Regions from separate parts of the Homo sapiens genome. Here regions 2, 3 and 4 are each linked to region 1. Evidence: promoter capture Hi-C in 16 types of primary human blood cells and fetal thymus (Javierre and others, 2016). All regions are on one chromosome and are shown on one strand. The core of a region is centred on a gene start or on the middle of the fragment in contact, and the rest is flanking DNA. Distances in the headings are between cores, read along the strand shown.

Region 1 (6,797 bases), core at 2,998-5,497:
ACAGAAGAGGGAAGAAAAGCTATCAGTTGCTAAGGATAAAGGGAAAAAACAAGACCCTACAATACCATGAAAAATAACACCTGGTAGGTGAGAAGAAATTTTAAACTTAAAATTTGAAGTAGGTCCTTTCATTGCTATTAAGGACCTCAACAATATAGAGAAACACAATCTATTAATAAATTCAGCCAGGTGTGGAGGCTCACACCTGTAATCCCAGCACTTTGGGAGGCTGAGGTGGGTAGATCACTTGAGGTCAGGAGTTTGAGACCAGCCTGGCCAACATGGTGAAACCCCCCTCTACTAAACATACAAAAAAGTTAGCAGGGCATGGTGGCACAGGCCTATAATCCTGGCTACTCAGGAGGCTGAAGCAGGAGAATCACTTGAACCTGGGAGGCAGAGGTTGCAGCAAGCTGAGATCATGCCACTGCCCTCCAGCCTGGGTGACAGAGCAAGACTCGTCTCAAATAAATAAATAAATATTCAGCATAGTTACCAAAAGCCTTATGTTGTTCACTAAATGTTATTCTTTATACATTAAGATAAATGATGACTGAGCCTGGTGGAGCGGCACATGCCCGTAGTCCCAGAGGCTGGGGCAGGAGGATAGCTTGAGCCCAGGAGTTGAGACCAGCTTGGGCAACACAGGGAGACTCCAACTCAAAAAAACCTCATAATTGCCAACATATTTATATTAAGGGAATGAACCCAAGTCATTATATGAAAAAAATAAAGGAAGATGAAATTATAGATGCTCCTTGGTTTACAACGGATTTTGCTGAAGGTAATGCCAGAAGCTGAGTTTACTGAACGCTTGTCACTTCCACACCACTGTCAAAAAATCCTAAGTCGAACCATCCTAACAGGAGACCGTCTGTACTATCTTTAACAGTGTAACAGAACACAGAATTAGCTTTCCAGCAGTGACTGCCTCTGTTGAATTAGTAAGCTTGGTAAACTTTCATTTCTTACAACCAATGACATAAATGCTAGACAACTGGTCAAAGTTGGAACGTTTTCTTCAGCCAAGCTGAACTAACCTAACTGCAGTTCAAAACTGAAGTTTGGTGCCTCATCGGCACCATGTTCTAACAAACTAAGCTAAAAACAATGGCTTATGGACATACTGAGAATGCGGTTTCTTATCCTTCCCCATGTCTCAGAAGGGAACAAAGTGACTATTTAAAGCCAAGAAAAATATAAAGAAATAAAAACCATCTACAACAGACCTAGACAAAAAAACACCCTCAATTAGGGCAGAATGTAAGACTCCCATTTCCCAGTCCATACCCTTTTAGGTACACCTGTTGGGGCACAACATGCTCTTATTTTTATTAAAATTTGAAGTTCACTTAAGTTCACATATCCATTCTTTTGAACAGCTCTAATAACAGCTATTATTCACAAGTGCAAACACTGTCAAAGTACAAGACACTGTGCTAGATATACATTATGTCAAATTCTCAAAGTAGGCTTTGTCCAGAAATACTAAATACGGAAACACAATGAAAAGTGACTTGTCCAGAGCGACACCGCTAGTGAGAGGCAGAGATAGAATCCAACCCAGGTCTGCTTGGTTCCAAGGCACATGCTCTTTCCACTACACAGCACAGCACTTTCAAAGAATCTTAAAACTTTGCATGTGAAAGGAACCCTATCATAATAATGGCTGCCTTTTTAATGAAAATCTACAATGTGCCAGGTGCTTTACATACCTTACCTCATCTTCTTACAATAACCAATCAAGGGAAGTGATGGTATTACCGTTTATGGATAAGGAAATAAAAGAAGTCAATTGTCAAAGGCCACAGGCTAATAAATAACTAACCTGCGATTTAAACTGATGTCTGCTTAATTCAAGCCAAGAAAAATACTAAGATCAACTGAAAAACATCTACAAAAGACCCAGACAAAAATCACACAGGCAATCAGGTTAAGTAATAAATATCTAACCTGAGATTTAAACTGAGGTCTGTTTAATTTCAAGTTGATACTCTTTTGATCATGAGCTCAAAGAAATCAGAATGACCTCTGTGTACTCAATACTTCAATGGATGTCACTTCTAGAGGAAACTGCAATGGGCTAAGTATGGCTACAAGAAACTTACAGTGCCACCAGACTCACAGGATTTCAGGACTGGAAAATATTAGAGATCTGAGGGATGTACTCAGTTGCATTATTTTGCAGATGGGAAAACTGAAGCTCAGAGAGATTGCAAAACATTCATGTAAAAGGAGGATTTGAAGCAATGGAGACCAGCGCAAGGGCATTCCAGGTGAAGGGTATATTCTGAAGAAAAGCATAGAGGTAAAAATGATCATGCTTGAACTGTTAGCAATACAGGTAAAATGTACTATATAAGAAAGGAAAAAAATGAGGAATGCTGTCAAGTTATATGACCAAAGGACATTTCTTTTTAAAAAACAAAAATCTTAAAAAGGTTTTTTAGACAATTTTTCCATTTTAATAGAATACCTATCCCTGCTGTCACAGTTATTCCATCCAACCTTATCTAATACTTGATATGAATCTCTGTGCTGTGGCCACATTCTCTTTCGATTTTGTTTGCTGTTAGCACTGTGTCTGTACTAAAGCACGAGAATATGGATTTATACATTTTTTTCTAACCAATGTCTTCTCACTCAAAACTTATTTTGCTTTGTCTTTTAATTATTTTTCACTCTGAGTTGCGTACTGAAAGCCTAATGGCAAGAGTCTTAAAATCTCTGCATAAAACTTAAAGTTTACAGTAATTTTTTACTCCAAAGAGTACTAACTGAAACACAATAACTCAAAGAATACAGCCTCAGATATTTTATTACAAAATGTAGTACTACCATTAATTAGCATGATATAAAGAAATACTGGTCACAGACCAAAAACTGAGTTCGACAGTCTGAGTTTCTATGAAGAAAAGTTTAATAAATTATTCTCAAGGTAACAGTTTCAGAAGAAAAAGTTTTTAAACATTTTAAATATTTAAGAAGTTTTATTTCCTGGTAACAACTGTTAAAAATAATTTACAAATGTAATTTATTTACGCTGGTTGATAACAGAAAAAAATATATAAATTATTATAAAACTTTCTGAAGTCAAAATTGCTTTATTTACTAGGTTCAGGCATCATACGTCCAAAAATGTGAGGCTCCAAATTCAGGCGCAGCGGAGAGTGTGTTAATGAAGTTAGTGCTGGTATACTGACACCCTAGAGAAAAACCAGGTTTTCAGTTTATGTATCAGGTGCATGCAAAGGGCATTAAAAAAAAAGTGCTCTACAACGTTGGTCAGAAATGACTACATTACTTCTACTGGTATGAAAAACTGCAAACCCATCTCAGCCCCTATCAGACTGGCAGACACTAGTCCTGAAGCAACTGGGCCTAATCCAAAACTTCGGCGCAGCAGGTCACAGAGGAGGCGCCTGGGAAAGAGGAGATATCAAGTGAAAGTGAAGCAGGGAGAAGCCAGAAGCCGCCCCAGGCAGGTCAGAAAAGACTGTGGGGCTGGGAGGGAGGATGACAGGGTGTGGGGAGTGGGTGGGAGGAGGGGGTGTTATCAGAGGGAGAGCACTAAATGACACAAAGCAAAGGCAATCCTTAAAATGCCAATTCACCCTGGGAGACAGGGTGTGCACAGTGGAAAAGCAGGGTTTGGGTCCTGAACCCAGGAAAACCATTTCACAGACAAGTACACCGAGGTATGGGTTTCAAATACGGTCCTGCAACAAGGGAGCAGTACAGTTACGAGTAGACTGTGAGCCCTTGCAGGGTATAATTCAACCTGGCATTCCCCGCCCGCCCCAGCAGTGCCTAGCACTTGGCACAACCAGGAACTATCTCTGAATGAATGTCCCACGTCTTGAAACTCTAGGCTTCTTCCCAGACACCTGGGCTTCTGGCCTTAATACGCTAGGGTCCAGGACGGGAGAAACCCAGGCTGAGCGGGTCCGGAGAAGATGGGGCCTTGGGGTCCGAGTCCAACCACTGGCCCTCCGCCCGTCCACGGGCACTCACCCGGATGCCCTTCACCACGGTGATGTTCTCATTCTCGTCCGCCTCGAAGGTGACCCGGCGGGTGCTGGTGGTCCCACCCATGATTCCGGTTCCTGCCCCAGCGGAGACCTAGCGGGGAACCACGAGCACTTCGGGGCCCCCGCACCCACACGCGCGTGGAAGGGCCTGGATTCTTTTCCCGCACAGCGGGAGCAAGGCCACGACCCCCAGAAGCAAGGAGAAGGCGCCGGTCCTGAGCTCCCGCCTCCTCCGGTCACGCGCCACAACAAAAACGCCTCAGGTTGGTCGGCGATGCGAACTGCCCGCCTCTGTTCGGCGAGGGCGCCCGGATTGGTTCACCCGACCCGGATGCTATGGCAACAGGTGGTGTTTGATAGCTTTCCGCGGAGTCCCTGGGTGTAGTGGGAACTGTGGTCTCGATCTGGCGCGGTGGGTGATGGGACATTCTCTCCCCGCGCCTGAGCGCGCTAAGGGAGCACGGCATTCTGGGAGTTGTGGTTTTGACTCCCCAGAGACGCCTAACTGGGCAACTTTTTGAAGACATAATTCTAGAAATTTAGGCCACTAAGTTCAGAGACACAATCTTTCTCTCAAAGGGACTCACAGTTTAATGAAAAAGATGCATGATACTAATGAAGCCATTCCTAGTGTTCTATACACAAATTCCTGGCTCAAAACTTAGCGTTTCATTACAGTCGTAGGGTAGCTTAATGAAGACTACTTCTGAGAAATGCCTCGTTAGGTGACCCTGTGATATCTGTGGTTGTGCAAACATCATAGAGTGTACTTACACAAACCCAGATGGTGTAGCCTACTACACACCTGGGCTACTTGGTGTAACCTATTGCTCCCAGGCTGCAAAGATGTACAGCATGTCACTGTACTAAATACTGTAGGCAATTGTAACACAGTGGTATTTGTGTGTACAAATATATGTAAACATAGAAAAGCTACAGCAAAAACAGTGTAAAAGTGATTGCTTTGGCAACACATCTAGGACAATTTGAACAATACAGAGATTAGCACAGCCCCTGAGCAAGGTTGACACATGAATTTCTGAAGCATTCCATTAAAAAAAAAATCAAAGATAAAAAATGGTATGCTTCTATAGGGCACTTACCATGAATGGAGCTTACAGGACTGGAAGTTGCCCTGAGTGAGTCAGTGAGTGAGTGGGGAGTTGAATGTGAAGGCCTGGGACGCAACTATGCAGTACTGTACCTTTTATCAACACTGTGCACTTAGGCAACACTAAATTTATTTTCATATATTTTCATTCTTCAAGAATAAATTGACCTTAGCTTACTGTAACTTTTTAAACTTATAAACTTCTTTTTTTGTGACTTTTTGACTCTTTAATAACACTTAGCTTAAAACACAAACACACTATATAGCTGTACAAAAATATTTCTTTCTTTATATACTTAGTCTATAAGCTTTTTCTATTTTTGAAATTATTTACTTTTTACTTTTTAAACATTTTTGTTAAAAATTAAGACAAACACACACACATTAGCCTAGACCTACACGGGGTCAGGATCATCAATATCACTGTCTTCCACCTTCACATCTTGTCCCACTGAAAGGTCTTCAGAGGCAATAACACGTATGGAGCTATCTCCTATGATAACAGCACCTTCTGTAACACCTCCTGAAGGACCTGCCTGAGGCTGTTTTACAGTTAACTTTTTTATATAGGTAGAAAGAATGCACTTTAACCTAAAGATAAAAAGCATAGTATAGTAAATACTAGGAGACAGGAATTTTCCAGCTCCATTATAATCTTATGATTCCACTGCCAGAAATGAGGTTCTTCTTTGACTGAAACACTGTTATGCAGTACATGAATGGTGGCATTTTAGTAGTAGCCATAAAATAAAAAAATAAAAAACGTAAACGTGTGTTTGGTCCATGTCTCTTGTCTCATGAACTAGTATCTGTATTTTTTTCTTTTTGTAAAGTAAAATTTTAAGTACTATGGTTTTCAAACCTGTCTATGAGAAAATACATTTCTTCATAGAATAAATTATTTGCACCAAGTATGTAGAGAATTTACTTTCCACTTTTGTGTCTCCTTCTACTACTAGTTCAGTTACATAAGTTAGGCCATAATAGGGTTAGGCAGAGAAAAGTTAAGTGATTGCCAAAGATGGCATAAATTAGTGGAGGAATTAAAACTACATCAGAAAAGTTGAGATGATCTATTGTGGAAAGTTCCTATTAATAGTTCAACATTTCACCTCTACGAGACCAGTACATAGTTATTAGGTTATTCATCTACATATTTCTTTTTTGCTAAACACACTGTTACACATAAGTTTAGCCATATGACCTTAGTTTTACAGAGGCAGATGATTCTCAATAGAAATTAGGTTAATGATGGTACTATTCTTCAATTAATCCCTCTCAACATTAAAAGCAGCAGGCCACAACACACCATGGCATTCTCTTATGCCAAAGGCATCTACAATGCAGTCGCATTTTTGAGCTTCAATTATGTGCTGATCTATTACTGTATGAATCCAATTATGTGCTGATCTATTACTGTATGTATCTTTTATTTTTCTGAGACAGAGTCTCGCTCTGTCGCCAGGCTGGAGTTCAGTGGCGCAATCTTGGCTCACTGCAACCTCCGCCTCCCAGGTTCAAGCAATTCTCCTGCCTCAGCCTCCGGAGTAGCTGGGACTACAGGTGCGTGTCACCACACCCAGCTAATTTTTTTGTATTTTTAGTAGAGATGGGGTTTCACCATGTTGGCCAGGATGGTCTCCATCTCCTGACCT
Region 2 (6,689 bases), core at 124-2,623, 1.6 Mb after region 1:
ATTACACTGTAGAAGAAAAGCTTTCTCCTTACTTTGTCCTCAACTGATATTGAGAAAAAAGCAAGAGGGCAAATGTATAAGATTTGGAAGCTGCCCCTTCCAGCTGTTCTGGCCTGAACTCTAGTTAATCTTGTGCAAGTTAAATTCTAACTATCACTAGGTGAGACCTATCACCTGCTGGGACCTGTCAAGCCTCGGATTAGTGCCGTCCCGGAAGTAAAGTTCTGTTGATATCCCAGGAGGAACTGTCATGCTCTAACATGGATAAATGAGATACAGAACTGGCTACGATTAGGTCTTAATGAGTTCAATAAAGAGTGTGTCACAGAATTTCAAATGTGGAAAGATTATCTTTTCAACTGTATGTATAATTTATTCTGAGGACTTGCTTGCGTGTCACAAACCTAATGCATTTGTTAGGAGGATGAAACAGGAAAAACTCACAGGAGGACACGAAACACTACTTAGGATAGCTTCTAAGAAGGGAATCTCCCATAACATTCCTTATCTTTCCCGCCCACCCAAGAGTTCTGACACATATGCTTCAAAACCTCGTGTGGTAGTTCAAGCCTGCTTAGAAGCTTTTAAGGCCTCGTGCCAGGTTTCCGGTGTTTTCATAGATTTCTCTTGTTCAGTTATTGTCGCCTCCAAATTTGTCATTCTCTCATTCCACTCTAGCCTCCCTTCCTCTGTGCAATAAGCTTTTAGGGCATTCCATTAATCACTTTTCTTCCCCACCTAAAATACTGTCAGCAAACTGCCTAGGGGAATCCCTATAAAAGCGGTAAGAGAAAGTAAGGTTGCGTTACTGCCTATAAATTGGGCACTTTAAAGGCATTTGTTTTAATCACGACTTAAGACTTTCAACCACGAGTAATTTGTGCGAAAGGAGCTTCTTCTGGGAGGATACCTCGGCTTCGTCTTCAGGTTTCAATCCCTAAATTTCCCATAAGTAAAAGAAACATCACCTCCTCTCTTCCAAGAGTCCGCTGACACCTGTCTTCACCCGCAGGTGTTTCTTTTAAGACGTTAAACGCTTTCTAGAACCTCAAACAGCTAAGATGCTCCCCGCACCCGAGGTTTTGCACCAGCGACGCTCTAGGGTGTGTTTTTCTACTTCCCTAGGCCCAAGCCTGCCCGCTGGCGTCGAAGCCAACTCCTTACTGGTTCAGGTATGTGCTCGTCTCTAGAGTAAACCAATCAGAGCCCCACTTCTTACTCCTGGGATTTGGTAAACGGAAGAGACCTCTCCTGTTCCGGGAGTAGGCCGGGACCGTGGATGAGTGACAGTTCGACTTTCCAATAGGCAGAGCCCTAGGACCTGCCCACGTCTGGTTCAGGGGCTAGAAAAGAGCGTCGATGCCGGCGGCAGTGATGAGTCCTAGGAGGCGCTGGCTCTTTGGCGGCTCGGAGGAGCGGCTGCTGCTGCTGCTGCTGCTGCTGGTGGCCCCTTTGCAGGTGAGTGGCTTTGTTTTAGAAAATGTTGCGAACGTTTACATTTTTTAGTGATGTGATGTTTTATTTTTGGGTGCGGGGAAGGCCAGTTTCTTTACTTCCCCCGGTTTAGTCGTTGGTGGGAGTCTGGTGCCCACTCCAGCCCTCAAGCTGGGACCCTCACTTATCGCCCCGGTCCCTTTCCCTTGTCCCTATCTCAGAATGAGCCTCGCAGGCAGTCACCGTTCTGTCAACTGAGAGGAGGAGCCCGCTTTGGTAGTGCTGTCCTTATGGCAAGAATATATAGAAGTTGGAGGGAAGATAAACTCTCTTCTGGATGTCTGAGGTACTGTGTAGCAGAGCCCTTCCAATAGTAAGATCCCCTGGAAGGAAGCAGGGCGATGCCGCTGTATTTAGGGTTCTGGCAGACCTGGCCCTATCTATCATTTTGTGTAGTAGACAGAAAAACTCGAATGCGGTGAAAAGAGAAGGAGGTGAATATATGCAGTGTTTTCATGTAGGAATCTGGAGCCAAATCACAAGTTCTTAGAACCACTAGAAATAAAAACGTAAGTGTATTTTCCTCTTTTCTAAGGGACGAGCTGGTATTACACTAGAGAAGGTCAATGAAATGCATAATTGCAGTTAAGTTCACAGTTAAGCTTTAAAGAATAGTTGGTTGTTAGCTAACTTATAACTCTCATCCCCCTACTGCCTCCCTTGCAAATTACGGAAGATCTTTAGCTTGTGAGTGGTACTAGAATGTTAGCTGACTAAATGCAGACTCTTTCCAAGAAGGGGAAAAATCAAAAGCTAAGTTTCACCTGTAGGTACTAAAGGTTTTTTAATAGTGAAAGCAGAACTCATGTCAATTTGTCTTTTATTTTTTATTTTTTTTGAAACGGAGTCTCGCTCTGTCGCCCAGGCTGGAGCGACTGCAGTGGCTCGATCTCGGTTCACTGCAACCTCCGCCTACCGGGTTCAAGTGATTCTCCTGCCTCAGCCTCCCAAGTAGCTGGGATTACAAGCATAGGCCACCACGCCTGGCTGATTTTTGTATTTTTAGTAGAGACGGGGTTTCACCATGTTGGCCAGGGTGGTCTTGAACTCCTGACCTCAGGTGATCTGCCTGCCTCGGCCTCCCAAAGTGCTGGGATTACAGGCGTGAGCCACCGTGCCTGGCCTTGTCTTTTTTCTTTCTTTCTTTCTTTTGTTTTGGTTTTTTTTTTGTTTTGTTTTCAGACGGAGTTTCGCTTCTGTTGCCCAGGCTGGAGTGCAATGGCGCGATATTGGCTCACCGCAACCTCCGCCTCCTGGATTCAATCGATTCTCCTGCCTCAGCCTCCCGAGTAGCTGGGATTACAGGCATGCGCCCCCACGCCCAGCTAATTTTGTGTTTTTAGTAGAGACAGGATTTCACCATGTTGGCCAGGCTGGTCTCGAATTCCTGACCTCAGGTGATCTGCCTGCCTCGGCCTCCCAAAGTGCTGGGATTACAGGTGTGAGCTACCGCGCCCGGCCTTCTTTTTTTTTGAACTGCCTCCCGTGAGTCCAGGGAATAGCTCTTTCTTAGCCATCTTTGTATTCCAGTAGCACCTCATACACCGCAGATGCTCCCCAGTTGGTGGTGGACTTCAGAGAAGCATAATTCAAACAGTGTCATAGTGGAAGGAGCTCTGAGTTAGAAATCAAGAACATTGGCTTTAGTCCTGAAACTGTTACTATTTGTGTGATCTTAAACAAATCATTTCAACTGTGACTCTTAATTTTTGCATTTTTTTTTTGAGACAGGGTCTCGCTCTGTTGCCCAGGCTGGAGGGCAGTGGCGCAATCTCTGCTCACTGCAACCTCCACCTCTGCCTCCTGGGCTCAAGCGATCCTACCATCTCGATTTTTGCATCTTTAGAAAGCAGATGTTGCATTAAATTATATCTGAGATATAAACTCTGTATTTAAAGTCTGTTTTAAAGTAAAAATTATTAGTATACAAGCAGAATCTCATTGCAGTAAATTCTGTACCATCTATTAGCAAGTAAAAGTTCCCAGCTTCAAGGATATATTCTTGTTTTTTAATTTTTAATTTTTGTGGGTACCTAGTAGGTGTATATATTTATGGGTTACATGAGATATTTTGACATAGGCATGCAATGCATAATCACATCAGAGTACATAGGGTAGCTGTCACCAAAAGCATTTATCCTTTATGTTTCAAACAATCCAATTGTACTCTTTTAGTTATTTGAAAATTTACAATTAAATTGTTTTTTTTTTTACTATAGTCACCCTGTTGTGCTAGCAAATACTAGGTCTTATTGATCTTCCTATTTTTGTCCCCATTACAAGGATATACTCTTTTGTGTTCCTATTTAAACCAAACCAGATTATTGTAGAAAATTTGGAGCATACCGAAGTATAATGTGGCAGAAAAATGTCACTTAGAAGCAACTACTGTTAGTGTTTGGGTAGAGCTTTTAGTCTTTCTTCCTCTTTTGCCTGCTGTGGTTGGTTGAGATTAAGAGGCACATTTTAAGTAATGATTGATGCACCTAAATTCACCTGGCCTTCATCTTTGTGTGTCTGGGGCCTGAAGAACAGAGGTCACAAACGTGTTTGAACCGAATGGTTTCTTGAAACATCCTTGGAATGAAATCTGATATGAAAGATGTTTATATGGGTGGCAGGACAAAAAGTATTACTTAATAACAAAACCCTTCTGCTGAAACTTAGCCACAAATATGAGGAAAACATACTTTGTAAAATATAAATTAAATGTTAACCACTTCATTAAAGCATTTGGATTGCAGAATATTAGTACTTGGTAAGCTTCTGAGACTGTATCTTACCATCACCTTCTTCCATCCCACAATATTTGATTGCATTCCTCCTTCTACCACCTAATTTAAGCATTTCTCCTCTAATTCCTCCCTTCATTTTACTTTATTCCCAGCTTTCGCTTCTGCTCATATCATCGGCAAGGTAGGATTGCTTTGACGGGCCTGAGATCTGTGCCATTATTTATGAGTTAGTCAAAGTCTGCTCCATTCTACCTCTCACTTTTTGGTAGAGTGCTTCACCATAATCTCATTTAATCTTTCTGATAGCCCCCTGAGAACAGTAGTTTCATGATCCTCATCTTTATAGATATGGAACCTGAGGTTCAAAGAATTTAAATAAGTTAAGATCACATTGTCAGTCAGTAGCAGAGCTGGGCTCATATCTAGGTTGTTTTTACTTTAGACTTTTGGAATTTGGTGGACACAGTTTGTGTTGATAAAAGCTACTACCCTGGGGAAGACAATGACCAGAGATAGGAAGGAGGGGTCCGTCATGAGTGGGTGTTGTCCACAGTGGTGATGCCATGCAGGCTGGAACATGCAACATGCCCTGAGCAAATGCACATCTCATTACATATGTATATCTCTTCGCCATGAGTAGGGATCTGCCTGGTATGGTTGGTTATTCTTGTAACAAGCAATCAGTAGGAAATATTAGTAGATGTAAGATTGGGGAATGAGAGGGTTTTAGTGTCTGGAAAACACCTGTAAGTGGTAACATTTGCTCCTGTAAAATGATGTTCTTATAACTGCAAGTACAGATGAAAAAGTTTCTACAAAGCCTTAGGAAAAGTAATAGACCATGGAACACTTTTAGGTACAGTTGTGTTTGAACTTCTAATAGTGAACTTGATTTGGGGGAAGGCATAGTTTGTTAAGACATTAAAAGCCTTGGCCGAGCACGGTGGCTCACGCCTGTAATCCCAGCACTTTGGGAGGCCGAGGCGGGCAGATCACGAGGTCAGGAGATCAAGACCATCCTGGCTAACATGGTGAAACCCTGTCTCTACTAAAGATAACAAAAAAAATTAGCCGGGCGTGGTGACGGTCACCTGTGGTCCCCGCTACTCAGGAGGCTGAAGCAGGACAATGGCACGAACCTGGGAGGCGGAGCTTGCAGCGAGCCGAGATCACGCCACTGCACTCCAGCCTGGGCGACAGAGTGAGACTGCGTCTCAAAAGAAACATTAAAAGCCTTAAGGAACTGAGCCCCAGATTTCATTTCCCTTGAGACCTGTTCCTTTTTACTTTGTTAAAGACATGGTTCTTTTTCTCTGTCCTCAAATAATAGCCAGCCCATCTTCTATAAAGTTAGATTCCTCTTGCAGTGGGGGTTAAAAGTTGCTCAAAGCCACACAATAAGGGGTTTGGACCAAGGAAAACGTCATCTGAGTGTCTAGGGTAGCAACTGACTAATATTTAAATGTGAGCTTTGAATCTAAGTGACTCTGGTTCTATTTGTCTTATTTTATATAACTTCAACATTATATTGCTGATCAAATTTCTTGCTTAAACGTTGGAAATACAAGAAAAACTAGGTTTTTAAGTTGGACTTTACCCTGTAGTTTGTCCTATTTGTCCGTGAGTTGTACCACTAGGGTCTTAGGCATTATTAACTTTCAAACACGTGAGGAAGGGAGGAAGCAAAGTCCCAGGAGTGTCAGTTTGGAAGACAGGATGAGCCTCAGTTATGGGGAGTACTTATAACAGAGGAGCCTCAGTTATGGGAGAAATATAATGTGAAATTATATTTCACATAATTTCATATGTGGAATTATATAGTTTAATGAAGGAGTAGGAAGCAGCAGCAGATGATCATGCTACATTTGTTGAAAGTACTTAGGGATCTCAAAAATATTAAGAGGGGTAACCTTAGTAAATGCAGTGCCTTGCAAGTACATCACTCCCCTATCTACAGTCCCTGTCTTGCCAAAAAGAATGCTAATCTTGAATCATAATTTTATGTTTCAATTTTATGGTGGCATTATGGAAAGAATATTCTTTGCTTTATAGCTAACTTAGATGGAATTTCTATACATTTATAGTGAAAGATCTTTGAAAGTTATAAGTCACCTGCAAAGTATGTTCTTTGATTTGTTTATTGTCAAAGCAATTACATAGCACCTACTCCTGAGCAAGTATACATTCCCCTGAAGTGTGAGGCACTATGGGATAATTTATGAAGATGTCTAATGGGGTAAAGTGTGTCAAAATGACAGATGATATTTTTGAAGGAGATTAACAGGATGAATCCTATAGTTTTCCCCTATAGTTCAATCTTGAACCTATTCCTAAATAATTTAGTTAAGCAAAAGTCAAGTACTCAGACTGATTTAAATGTCTTCAGTATTGCCTTCTGTGAGGAATAAAAACAATTATGAATGGGATTCCATTACTCATGGTACTTGCCGTTCTGGCCAA
Region 3 (2,569 bases), core at 70-2,569, 1.0 Mb after region 1:
AAAACGATCGAGATTTGCATTTTTACACTTTCTGCCTGATTCTTCCCTATGTCACTTAGCCGAAGCCAGGCCCTACGAGGGTAAGGGTGGGGAAAATTCCCTTGGAGGAATCTCTACTTATTGGAAAAAGAAATAAGCAAAAAGCAAGATGAGCCTGGCAGAAAGAGATATTTTGCTTGTGGCCTTTACATTTATGACTAGCAAGATAATGAAGGAAGGTAATTCTGAAAGCTTTATGTCAGTTTTAACGGTCCCTCAAGCACTGAGAAAGATAATCGTCAATGGATGGTGTCCATAAGGATTTTTTCTCCTTCTCCCCTGACAGCCATTGACAGGATCATTTTGTATTTGCAACTGCTGTCATTGAAGCGTGCAGAAAAGGCCCTGTAAGGCCAGAAGGATGAGGGCTACTTCCCTGCAAGGATCTCTATTGTCATCACTATGGCAATAATAGTTACTATAATTTTCATTCTGCTTTTCTATAGAGTGTCGACGTTGTGGAGCTTAAGGCTATGGGATTTGGGTCACATAAAATCACACTAGCATAAAATCGTGCTTTGTTATCTTGAAAGAGTATTTTTTTTAACTGCAAAGAGAGCCTGTGCAACAAGATTAAAATAATTGCCAATGCAGGTCACTTGACTAATATAATTATTTATGGGATGCTAATAGCTTTTCAGACGCTTTCAGATACAGTGTCAATTTGACAGCAGTTTTTTCTCTCTCTGTTTGGATTGTAAGACCACTGCCAGTTTTTCTCCCCAAGGACAAGGCTTATCATTGGGGGGTGGGGGTGGGGAATGTAAATTAATTGGAAATCAGCTCTCAGGCGTCGTCTGGTAGTTTCTCTTTATTATCTGCAATTAAATCATAAGGACAGGAACCATGCCTTCTATTTCACTTATATGCACCCTCATCTCCTAGCGTCGCGCTTTGCATAAATTTCAGTGGTACTAGCTTTCCTACAGACTGCTTTAGAGACATTAGACACTTCTAAAGTACGACTCTGCGGAAAGAGCCCTTTGGGAATGAAGCGGCAACGGTGGCGCACCTGCGATCCTATCGTGGGATGACAAAGCTCTAAGAGGGGTCTCAGGGTAGGGAGGAAACAGCTGGAGACAAAGAAAGGGGGTGTAGCGAAAAGAGGTGAAAACAGGAAAGATAAGCGAACAGAACAGACCAAAGAGAGAAAAATAACAGAAGAGACTGAGAAAAAGAAAAGTCAAGTGGAGCGCCCACTGCCCCGCCTGCAGAAGGCGAGTACGCGCGGAGGAGACTACAGGCCCCAGAATCCTCCGCGGTTCCCCTTGCCTGGGGTCAGTCTCCTAGGCAACCCCGCTAAACAAGATGGCGACCTCCGAGAGGGCTCTCCTGAGGACCAGAGCTGCCTCTCTCCTGAGAGGCTTGGGCAGATCCCGAACTGGAGCCCGATCGTTACAGTTTCGCGCAGAAAAAGAGCGTCAGCCTTGCTGGTCTTTTCCCATGGGGCAGAAGACGAAAGGCAGCTCTAACATAGCCTCCTCCTACCTGCTCCAGCAGCTCATGCACCGCTATCAGGAGCTGGACTCGGACGGAGATGAGGACCAGGGCGAGGGCGAGGCGGGATCCGAGGAGTCCTCAGAGTCCGAAATGCTGAATTTGGAGGTGTGTCTTCCCCCCCACCCCGTACTCCCTGGCTCCCTCGTCCAGCCCTGTTACTTCAGCGGCAGCTCCCCGATGCACCCCCACCAGCCCGAAGCTTCCCACACCTTCTCAGGCTCTCTCGCCTCCAGGAACGCCTCTTCCCCCTCTTTTCTTCCCCTGTCTTTTACCCCGTTTTCTCACCCCCTGCCTGAAATAGCTCTAAATAGTTCCTTTCTTTTTTCATTAACACATTTGATTTCTTATGAGTCGAGTTAACACAGCGTCACTTTGTAAGAGTGTCTAGATAATTGTCTGGGAATTATGGCTTTAGCTTTTTCAAAATTATACTTTGACAGTATTGTGAATAGGCAGAGTTCATCTCTGACATTGCCAGCACCTGTTGCCCATGGCTATGACATACTTCCACACTCTTCCTCAGTTCTAGTCCCGTCAGCCTCCCTCCAGGAAAAAAAAAAAAAAAAAAATCCGCTTTTGAAAGTGCTTCTTCAAAGACTAAGTGACTTAAAAGTTGAATACATTACTTCTGTCGGGGGCATATGCCTTATACAAGCAACATGCACACACACCAGAAAAGAGCCTTATAATGTTCGAACAGCCAGCTCATTGTGGGAATATTTTAGGATGTGGGGAATGTTCCCATCATCCCACCCATATTGACTGGGATGGCGGCTTCGCGTTTCACATGACTGCCATTCCCTCCTTTCTACAATATCTCTTCTGACCACCACACAATTCCTCTTCTTTCTTATGCTTATTATGGTCCTTTTCCTTTCTTAGTCCATTGTTGTCTTCTTGTCCTTTTCCACTTCTCATCACATCACTTCTTTTCTCTTGGCTTCTAATAAATTGCTTTCTTTCAAAAGCGTAATTTAATTTGCTTCCTTTCTATTTTGTTTATGTTTTTGAGATGGAGTCTGGCTTTGTC
Region 4 (7,750 bases), core at 2,264-4,763, 1.2 Mb after region 1:
ACTCTGAAGACCTCTCTATCCTCCCCTCTCATTTGCTCAGAGAACTCTTGCTAGCAAACCTGTTCTCAGACCAAAATCATGCTCAAAGAAACTAACTTATCTTTCTTCCTCCCTCATTTTACCATCAACTCTCTTTAAAGAGTAATCTACATTCGTAGTCTCTACTTGTTAAATCTCCAATCAGCTTCTTAAACTACTCTGATCAATGCCAGGGTATTAAAAGCAGTCCTGTTGAGAGCCGTGATGACTTCTTAATTGTGAAAACCATATAACACAGTCTCACCTTACTTGATCTGGCAGTGGCTTTTTACAATGAAAACCCAATATTTCTTGACATTCTCTTGTCCCTCTGTTTATAAGACATGAGTCTCCTGTTTCTCTTTTGACTTCTCTGACTTACGCTTTCCAGTTTCCTTAATGGGCTCTCCTCCTCTGACCACTGGGTTCTCCTTTCAGAGTTCCATCATTTATTCCCTCCTCTCATTGCCCTGCACATGTTCTCTTGGCGATTTCACCTCTGGAACTTCCACCACTGCCATATGGAATAGTGATCCTGCGTGTGTGTCTATGTACAGCCCCCATCTCCCTTGTGTCCTTAATCAAAATTTCCAGTGTCTTTGGAATGTTCACTAATGTTTCCCTGTAAACCCCTCACCATTAGGGCATACACATTTCATTACCTACCCTCCCTAATAGGCCTTTATTTCTATTAAGAACATTGTACTCTACTTCTTCTCTTTGGGAAAAACCTGAAAGTTTTCGGTCTTCCTCTTTTTTCCACTGCACATTTATTTGCTCTTTATATCCCATCGGTTCCACCTCACAAGTATCTCTAGATTCCAGCCTTTCTTGTCCATTCCCATTGACATCCACTTCTTCTCCCGTAAAGGCCTCCTAACATCTTGGTGCCTTCAGCCTCTGTGTTCTTTAACCCATCCTCCCTGCTGCCTCCAGGCTGATTCCAAAAACAAACCCAAAATCTTCATGTCCCATTGCTATTCTAAGATGTCTTTTCTAATTGTGTAGTACGACATAACAAACCACCCCAAACTGTAGTGATTCAAAGCAAAACAAACAAATAAAAAAACCCACACACTGTATTTCTCACTCAGGTTCTGTGTGCTGACTGTGCCCAGCACACAGCTGCTCTGTCCTCTTGGGGTTCTCATGCAGTTGCAGTCAGATGTAGGCTGGGGTTGGAGTTCCCTGAAGGCTTGAAAGGGTTGATCCCCGAGATGGCAGGAGCAAGTCTCTTGACATGGTGTCTCTTAGGCTGTGCTTGCTCACAACATGGTGGATTCAGGATAGTTGGAATTCTTAAATGGTAACTTGTTTCCCCTGGAACAAGCATTCCAAGATATTAAGTCAGAAGCCGTCGTGGCTTCTGAAGTCACACAGTGCCACTTGTACCACATTCTATTGATTCCATAGGACCAAGCCTGATTCACTGTGGGAGAAAACTAACAAAATCATCAGTTGTGTCTGTGTGGGAGGGACGTCTTTGAAGTCTAGCTATATACAATGTTCTTGATTCCTTGTGTAAAAGCCACGCTTAGTAGAAGGCATATAAACATCACAATCAAGCCTTAGTTTACCTCTTTGGTTTTACCTTGTGTCACTCTCCCTAGGGTTACCTGGGCTCCACCCACATAAACTCACTCTCTTCCCTGAGTTTACAGTAACTTTCAAAATTCTTATCTGTGCATACGCTGTTCTGTCTGCTTGGAATATCCTTTTCTCTTTAGCCAACTCCTGTTCATCTTTTTACGGTGGCCAGAGAGGACAGTAGAGTCAGTGGATACCTCTATATTGTGCAGGAGGAAGGTGCTGTGCTAAGATGTCACTTTTCTGTGTGTAGCTTTTCTTTCCTTTTTTTTTTTTTTTTTGGAGGGGGAGTTTTGCCCTTGTTGCCCAGGCTGGAGTGCAATGGCACGATCTCGGCTCACTGCAACCTCTGCCTCCCGAGTTCAAGCGATTCTCCTGCCTTGGCCTCCTGAGTAGCTGGGATTACAGGTGCTCACCACCACACCTGGCATATATATATATATATATATATATATATATATATATATATATATACAGAATATATATATATTCTGTATTTTTAGTAGATACGGGGTTTCACCATGTTGGCCAGGCTGGTTTCGAACTCCTGACCTCAGGTGATCCACCTGCCTCAGCCTCCCAAAATGCAGGGATTGCAGGGATTACAGGGATGAGCTACTGCTCCTGGCTGCTTTTCAATGAACCATTCATGGCTCCCTTCTCTATACCTCCAGCACTCCTCCATACCCCCACTAATCCATTAATCATGTTGCACTGTAGTTATCTGTTTTCATGTTGGTCTCCCCCTCTAGACTAAGCCTTTGATGAACAGAATCCACAAATAACTAATTTATCTCTAGATCCTCAGCATCTTACATGGTGACTGGTACATAATATGTGCATATACCTTCTATTCAATGACTGAATGAATCAGCTTGAAGTAGTCAAATAATTCACACCTCATGAATACATGATATTTTTCAGCTTGACTAATTTTAACAATGTAAACATCAAAAATGTACTGCTCAGTGAATTTGCATGAACAGTGGTGTATAACCAATACTCAGGTTAGGAAATAAATGAGTACCAGCATTCCAGCAGCTCCTGTGCCCCATTCCAATCACTAACCCCCTCCAAGGGCAAGCACTATTCTGACTTTCTAGCACCAAAGATAAGTTTGGTCTGCTTTTGCACTTTACATAAATGGAATCATGCAGTATATTTCTTTTGTTTCTTCTTTTTTTTTTCTCAACATTATGTTGTCAGTTCAGCTACATTTCTTTGTGTATTTGTAGCTCATTTATTCTTACTGCTGCATAACATTTCCTTGTATGAATATACGACAACTTATTTGTTCTCTGGTGATGGACAATTTGGCTATTATTAATAGTGCTACTGTGAAATATCTTGTACATATCTTTTGTACATTTCTATTGGATATCAGCGTATCAATTAAGGTCCAGTCAGGAGGCAAAAATTGTATAGTAATTTGAACAAAGAAAGCTTAATATAAAGAATTATTAACTAGTAGTATTAACTAGAAGATAAACTACTATAAAGGATTAAAAGAACTCCCCAAATTATGGGAATAGCAGATACAAGGAGTAGCCACTACATAAGACTGAGTCAGACTACCCAAGAAAAGAACATATTTGGAAAAGGGCCCTCTCCCCTCCTCCCCAAATGGAGATTCAGACCTCATTGAAGGGGGTAGTGCTGCAGTCCTCTGGCTAGCAGAGAAGTTCAGTGAGGTGCTGATGAAACTCACCTAGGGTCATCCTCTGGGGTCCAGGTAGGGCACTGGTCAGCTCATTGAGAAGCTGCTGGTGGAAGTTTTGTACTTGCTAGGAAGCTGGGTGGAGCTCTGGCAGAATTTTCTGGATACCAGCTGTGAGGATACTAGTTAGTCCACCAGGGTGAATTCCCCAGGGTATCCTACATGCTGGCTGAGCACTGCATGAGCAACATGGAAGAAAGCACACCAGAACCAGAACTCCTCCCTCAGTGTCCCTGCAGCCCCCTCTGTGACAAAGCTCCACACTGTGCTCCCCATCAGAGGAGAAACGTCCACAGGGTCAAGCTCCAGCATCCCAAACAAGGCCATGAAGGGTGGATTTGGAGTGGAGAGGCCATAAATTGACAACTAGAACATCCAAGAGTTTTTTTGGGGGTCATGCCGACTTCAACATTTTGTTTTATCATAAAACCAAAGTTATGAAGTATAGCTATGATTTCATCTCACAGATCTTTTTTTCTTCTTTTATTACCCTGAGTTCAGAATTCTAACATTTTTGAATGAATAGCAACTTCTTAGACACCAGCTGTGCTCAACATGTTTAAACCTCTTCACAGTCCTCTTACCTTATAAAGAAGGATCTATCACTTTGGGAATGTTCATTGTCTTTGACCTAGTGTTGTCAGTGGGAAAAGCTGTCAAGCTTGTTCTAAAAGCCATTTTTGTTTCTAGTTCTAGACACTCAGACACATTTTGAATCATTTGTAAAATTCACTTAAACAACTTGTTGACAAAAAATTAAATAATATACCTCTGATGGAATACTGCCTGATAAGTCTCAAATTGCCAATCCTACAGAGATCTGTCATTTGATTTTTTAAAACATCTTTTCTATATCTATCATATGATGATTATTTTCTCATCTTTGCATTATGTAAATCTTGAGATATTTAGAGCTGTGCACTATAAATATACTTCAGATATTATTCATAGAGTCAAAATATTCTTGTTGTTTGTTTCATAGGTCAGATTCAAGCAATGCCCTGGTATATTAATAGACTTATGAATGCTAATATTTTCAAGGGCATTATTTGAAGACATATTTTTTCAGATTACTATAATTTGGGAGTATGACATTTTGGCTAGGAAGAAAACCTTCTTGATCAGAATATTAGTGGCCCAAGGACAAGGGCTTTGTCTTATTAGCCACAGTATCCTCCATATCTGGATGACATCTGGCTTATAGTAGGTGCTCAGTAAGTAACAGCTGGAGGGAAGGAGTGAAGGAAGGAGAGAAAGAAAGAAATAGAAAAAGAAAGAAAGAAGGAGAGAGAGAAAGAAAGAAGAAAGAGAAAGAAAGAAAGAAAAAGCAGGGAAGGAAGGAAGAGGACCTTTCAAAAAACCAGCTACTCTTTAAGGGACTCATAAACAAAACAGGTGAGCGTTTGAAAATGGTACCTGCTATGAGAGAAAGTAAGTACGAATAATTACCTGAAGAAAATTTACAAAGAACTCAAACAACTCAACAAGAAAAAAACCATTATAAAATTGGACAAAAGACATAAACAGACATTTTTCAAAAAATGACATGCAAGCAGCCAATAACCATGTGAAAAAAAATGCTCAATATCACTAATCACATAATTACACCAGTCAGAATGACTATTAAAAAGTCAACAAACAACAGATGTTGGTGAGGATGCAGAGAAAAGGAAACACTTATACACTGTTGGTGGGAATGCAAATTAGTACAACCCCTATGAAACAATAGAGAGATTTCTTGAAGCAATTCCACTACTGGGTATCTACCCCAGAGAAAAGAAATAATTATATCAAAAAGATACCTGCGCTAGTATGCTTATTGCAGCACTATTCACAATAGTAAAGACATGGAATCAACGTAAGTATCCATCAACAGATGATTGGATAATGAAAATGTGGTATAGATACACACACAGTGGAATACTACTCAGCCATAAAAAAGAATGAAATCAAGTCTTTTGCAGTAACATGGATGGAACTGGAAGTCATTGCCTTAATGAAATGATTCAGAAACAGAAAGTCAAATACTGAATGTTCTCTCTTATAAGTGGGAACTAAATAATGTGTACACAGGGACACAGAGAGTGGAATAATAGATACTGGAGACTGGAAAGGGTGAGAGGGTAGGAGAAAGGTGAGGAATGAGAAATTACCTGATGGGTACCATGTATACTCTTTAGGTGATGGGTACAGTAAAAGCCCAGACTTCACCACTATGCAATATATCCATGTGACAAAACTGCAATTGTATCCCCTAAATCCATAAAAATAAAAAATTTAATTAAAAAAGAAAAAATAATAATTCCCCGAAGAAACAAACCTTAGTGCCCATGACTGTGGGTGAGCTCCTGAACAGCAGGTACCAGAGCTCGTTTATCTAAGTACCGTACCATTTTCCCCTTTATTGTTGCTGAAAAGATGTTTGTTAAATTATATTATTGAACTGAGGTGGCAAATCTAACTGAGGAAATGAGACTGTTTATACCACCTTTAGGCGCGGTGGCTCATGCCTGTAATCCCAGCACTGTGGGAGGCCAAGGCAGGCAGATCACCTTAGGTCAGGAGTTCAAGACCAGACTGGCCATGGTGAAACCCCGTCTCCACTAAAAATACAGAAAATTAGCCGGGCATGGTAGCCTGCCCCTGTAATCCCAGCTACTCAGGAGGCTGAGGCAGGAGAATCGCTTGAACCCGGGAGGCGGAGGTTGCAGTAGGCCTAGATGGTGCCATTGCCCTCCAGCCTGGACAACAAGAGCGAAACTCTGTCTCAAAAAAAAAAAAAGAATCATGTCGAATAATCAAGTTTTCTCAGTTCTTCACTCATGTCAAGTGTGAGAAGTCTCCAAGTTTTTTTCCACTGTGCCTCTACCCCCTTGCCTTGTATAGCTGATAATATCTTTTTTTTTTTTTTTTTTTTTTGAGACGGAGTCTTGCTCTGTTAACCAGGCTGGAGTGCAATGGCATGATCTCGGCTCACTGCAACCTCTGCCTCCCGGGTTCAAGCCATTCTCCTGCCTCAGCCTCCCAAGTAGCACCTGTAGTAGACTACAGGCGCACACCACCATGCCTGGCTAATTTTTATATCTTTAGTAGAGATGGGGTTTTACCGTGTTGGCCAGGATGGTCTTGATCTCCTGACCTCGTGATCCACCTGCCTCGGCCTCCCAAAGTGATGGGATTACAGGGTGAGCCACTGTGCCTGGCCAACTGATAATATCTTAAGGGAAAAAATACCAAACCTATGGGATCATTTAGTTTTCCTACTCTGACTGCCACCTTTCTCCTCTGATTCCGGCATTAGGTGCCTGGGAAGATGTTACTAACCCATGTACCAAGCATGTGCTTTGATCTGCTGTTCCAGGAAGTAAATGCAGCACATTTCAGTTTCTGACAGTTTCAGCTTATAAAGTGATCCCATACAGAGCTAGTCTACCTCCTACATGAATCATATGAAGCAGATAGGCATTATTAGTTCTAGGAGAAATATGATTAAATGTATTTTCCAAGGCTCACTGGTGTGAATGCATGAGGCTGGGCAGGTAAGGTAAAGTGGGTAAAACTGATTTCTAAGGTAAATGTGTGAAACTGGCCATAAATCATAGGAGTTTTGCTGGGGAATTAAAAAGTGTAAGCTCTGTCTGAATACATTTGAATTTACATTTTCAACATTATTTTTCATTGTGGTAACATACACATAACATAACCATTTTGACCATCTTAACTATTTTAGAGTGTAAGGTTCTGTGGTATTAAATACACTCACACTGTTGGGCTGCCATCCCCACCATCCAGCTCCAGAACTCTTTTCATCTTTCAAAACTGAAACTCTGCACCCATTGTACAATAATTCCCCATTCCTGCCTCCCACCAGCCCCTCGAAACCTCCATTCTACTTTCTACCTCTATGAATCTGACTCCTCTAGGTACTTCATATAAGTGAAATTATACAATATCTGTCCTTTAGTGACTTATTTAATTTAGCATAATGTCCTCAAGATTCATCCATGTGATAGCGTATGTCAGAATCTCCTTCCTTTTTAAGACTAAAATAATATTCCACTCTATGCATAGCACACATTTTGTCTAACCATTCATCATCCACAGACCCTTGGGTTGCTTCTACCTTTTAGCTATTGTGAATAATGCTGCTATGAACACGGGGATACAAATGTCTCTTTGAAACTCTTTCAGTTATTTTGGGGATATACCTAGAAGTGAAATTCCTGGATCGTATGATAGTTCCATGTTTAATTTTTTGAGGAACCTCCACACTGTTTTCCACAGTGGCTGCACCATTTTATATTTCTACCAACAGTGCACAGGGTTCCATTTTCTCCATATCCTTGCTAGTACTCGCTATGTTCTGTTTTTTGTATGGTGGCCATTCTAGTGAGTGCTTGGTGGCATCTCATTCTGGTTTTGATTTGC

What was found. Contacts are between HindIII fragments. The CHiCAGO score rates a contact against its expected background, and 5 or more counts as called.
Region 2: a contact is called between the fragment with the promoter of BPGM here and the fragment with the promoter of CHCHD3 in region 1, in 1 of 17 cell types (monocytes). The highest score is 6.2, in monocytes.
Region 3: a contact is called between the fragment with the promoter of LRGUK here and the fragment with the promoter of CHCHD3 in region 1, in 11 of 17 cell types (total B cells, fetal thymus, non-activated CD4 T cells and 8 more). The highest score is 20.4, in total B cells.
Region 4: a contact is called between a fragment that was not itself captured here and the fragment with the promoter of CHCHD3 in region 1, in 1 of 17 cell types (non-activated CD4 T cells). The highest score is 7.4, in non-activated CD4 T cells.

Annotation. Positions count from the first base shown.
Region 1 is chr7:133,077,843-133,084,639 of GRCh38, forward strand. It overlaps CHCHD3 (coiled-coil-helix-coiled-coil-helix domain containing 3), which reads right to left and starts at 4,248. Exons shown (of 8, transcript NM_017812.4): 1 at 4,015-4,248. The coding sequence starts at 4,095. It also overlaps the pseudogene RNU6-92P. RefSeq lists enhancers at 3,981-4,615, 4,031-4,210, 4,421-4,530. The HindIII fragment of the contact is 4,501 bases long and covers 948-5,448 here.
Region 2 is chr7:134,645,480-134,652,168 of GRCh38, forward strand. It overlaps BPGM (bisphosphoglycerate mutase), which reads left to right and starts at 1,374. Exons shown (of 3, transcript NM_001724.5): 1 at 1,374-1,458. All of the region lies in intron 1 of LOC124901750 (a long non-coding RNA gene), which reads right to left. RefSeq lists enhancers at 1,351-1,500, 1,601-1,710 and a silencer at 4,718-5,012. The HindIII fragment of the contact is 1,395 bases long and covers 700-2,094 here.
Region 3 is chr7:134,126,021-134,128,589 of GRCh38, forward strand. LRGUK (leucine rich repeats and guanylate kinase domain containing) reads left to right here and starts at 1,320. Exons shown (of 20, transcript NM_144648.3): 1 at 1,320-1,644. The coding sequence starts at 1,348. RefSeq lists enhancers at 1,173-1,222, 1,333-1,602. The HindIII fragment of the contact is 1,507 bases long and covers 230-1,736 here.
Region 4 is chr7:134,319,047-134,326,796 of GRCh38, forward strand. It overlaps a transcript of SLC35B4 not described here. Among named protein-coding and RNA genes, the nearest start is that of SLC35B4, 6.0 kb to the left of the region's middle. The HindIII fragment of the contact is 935 bases long and covers 3,047-3,981 here.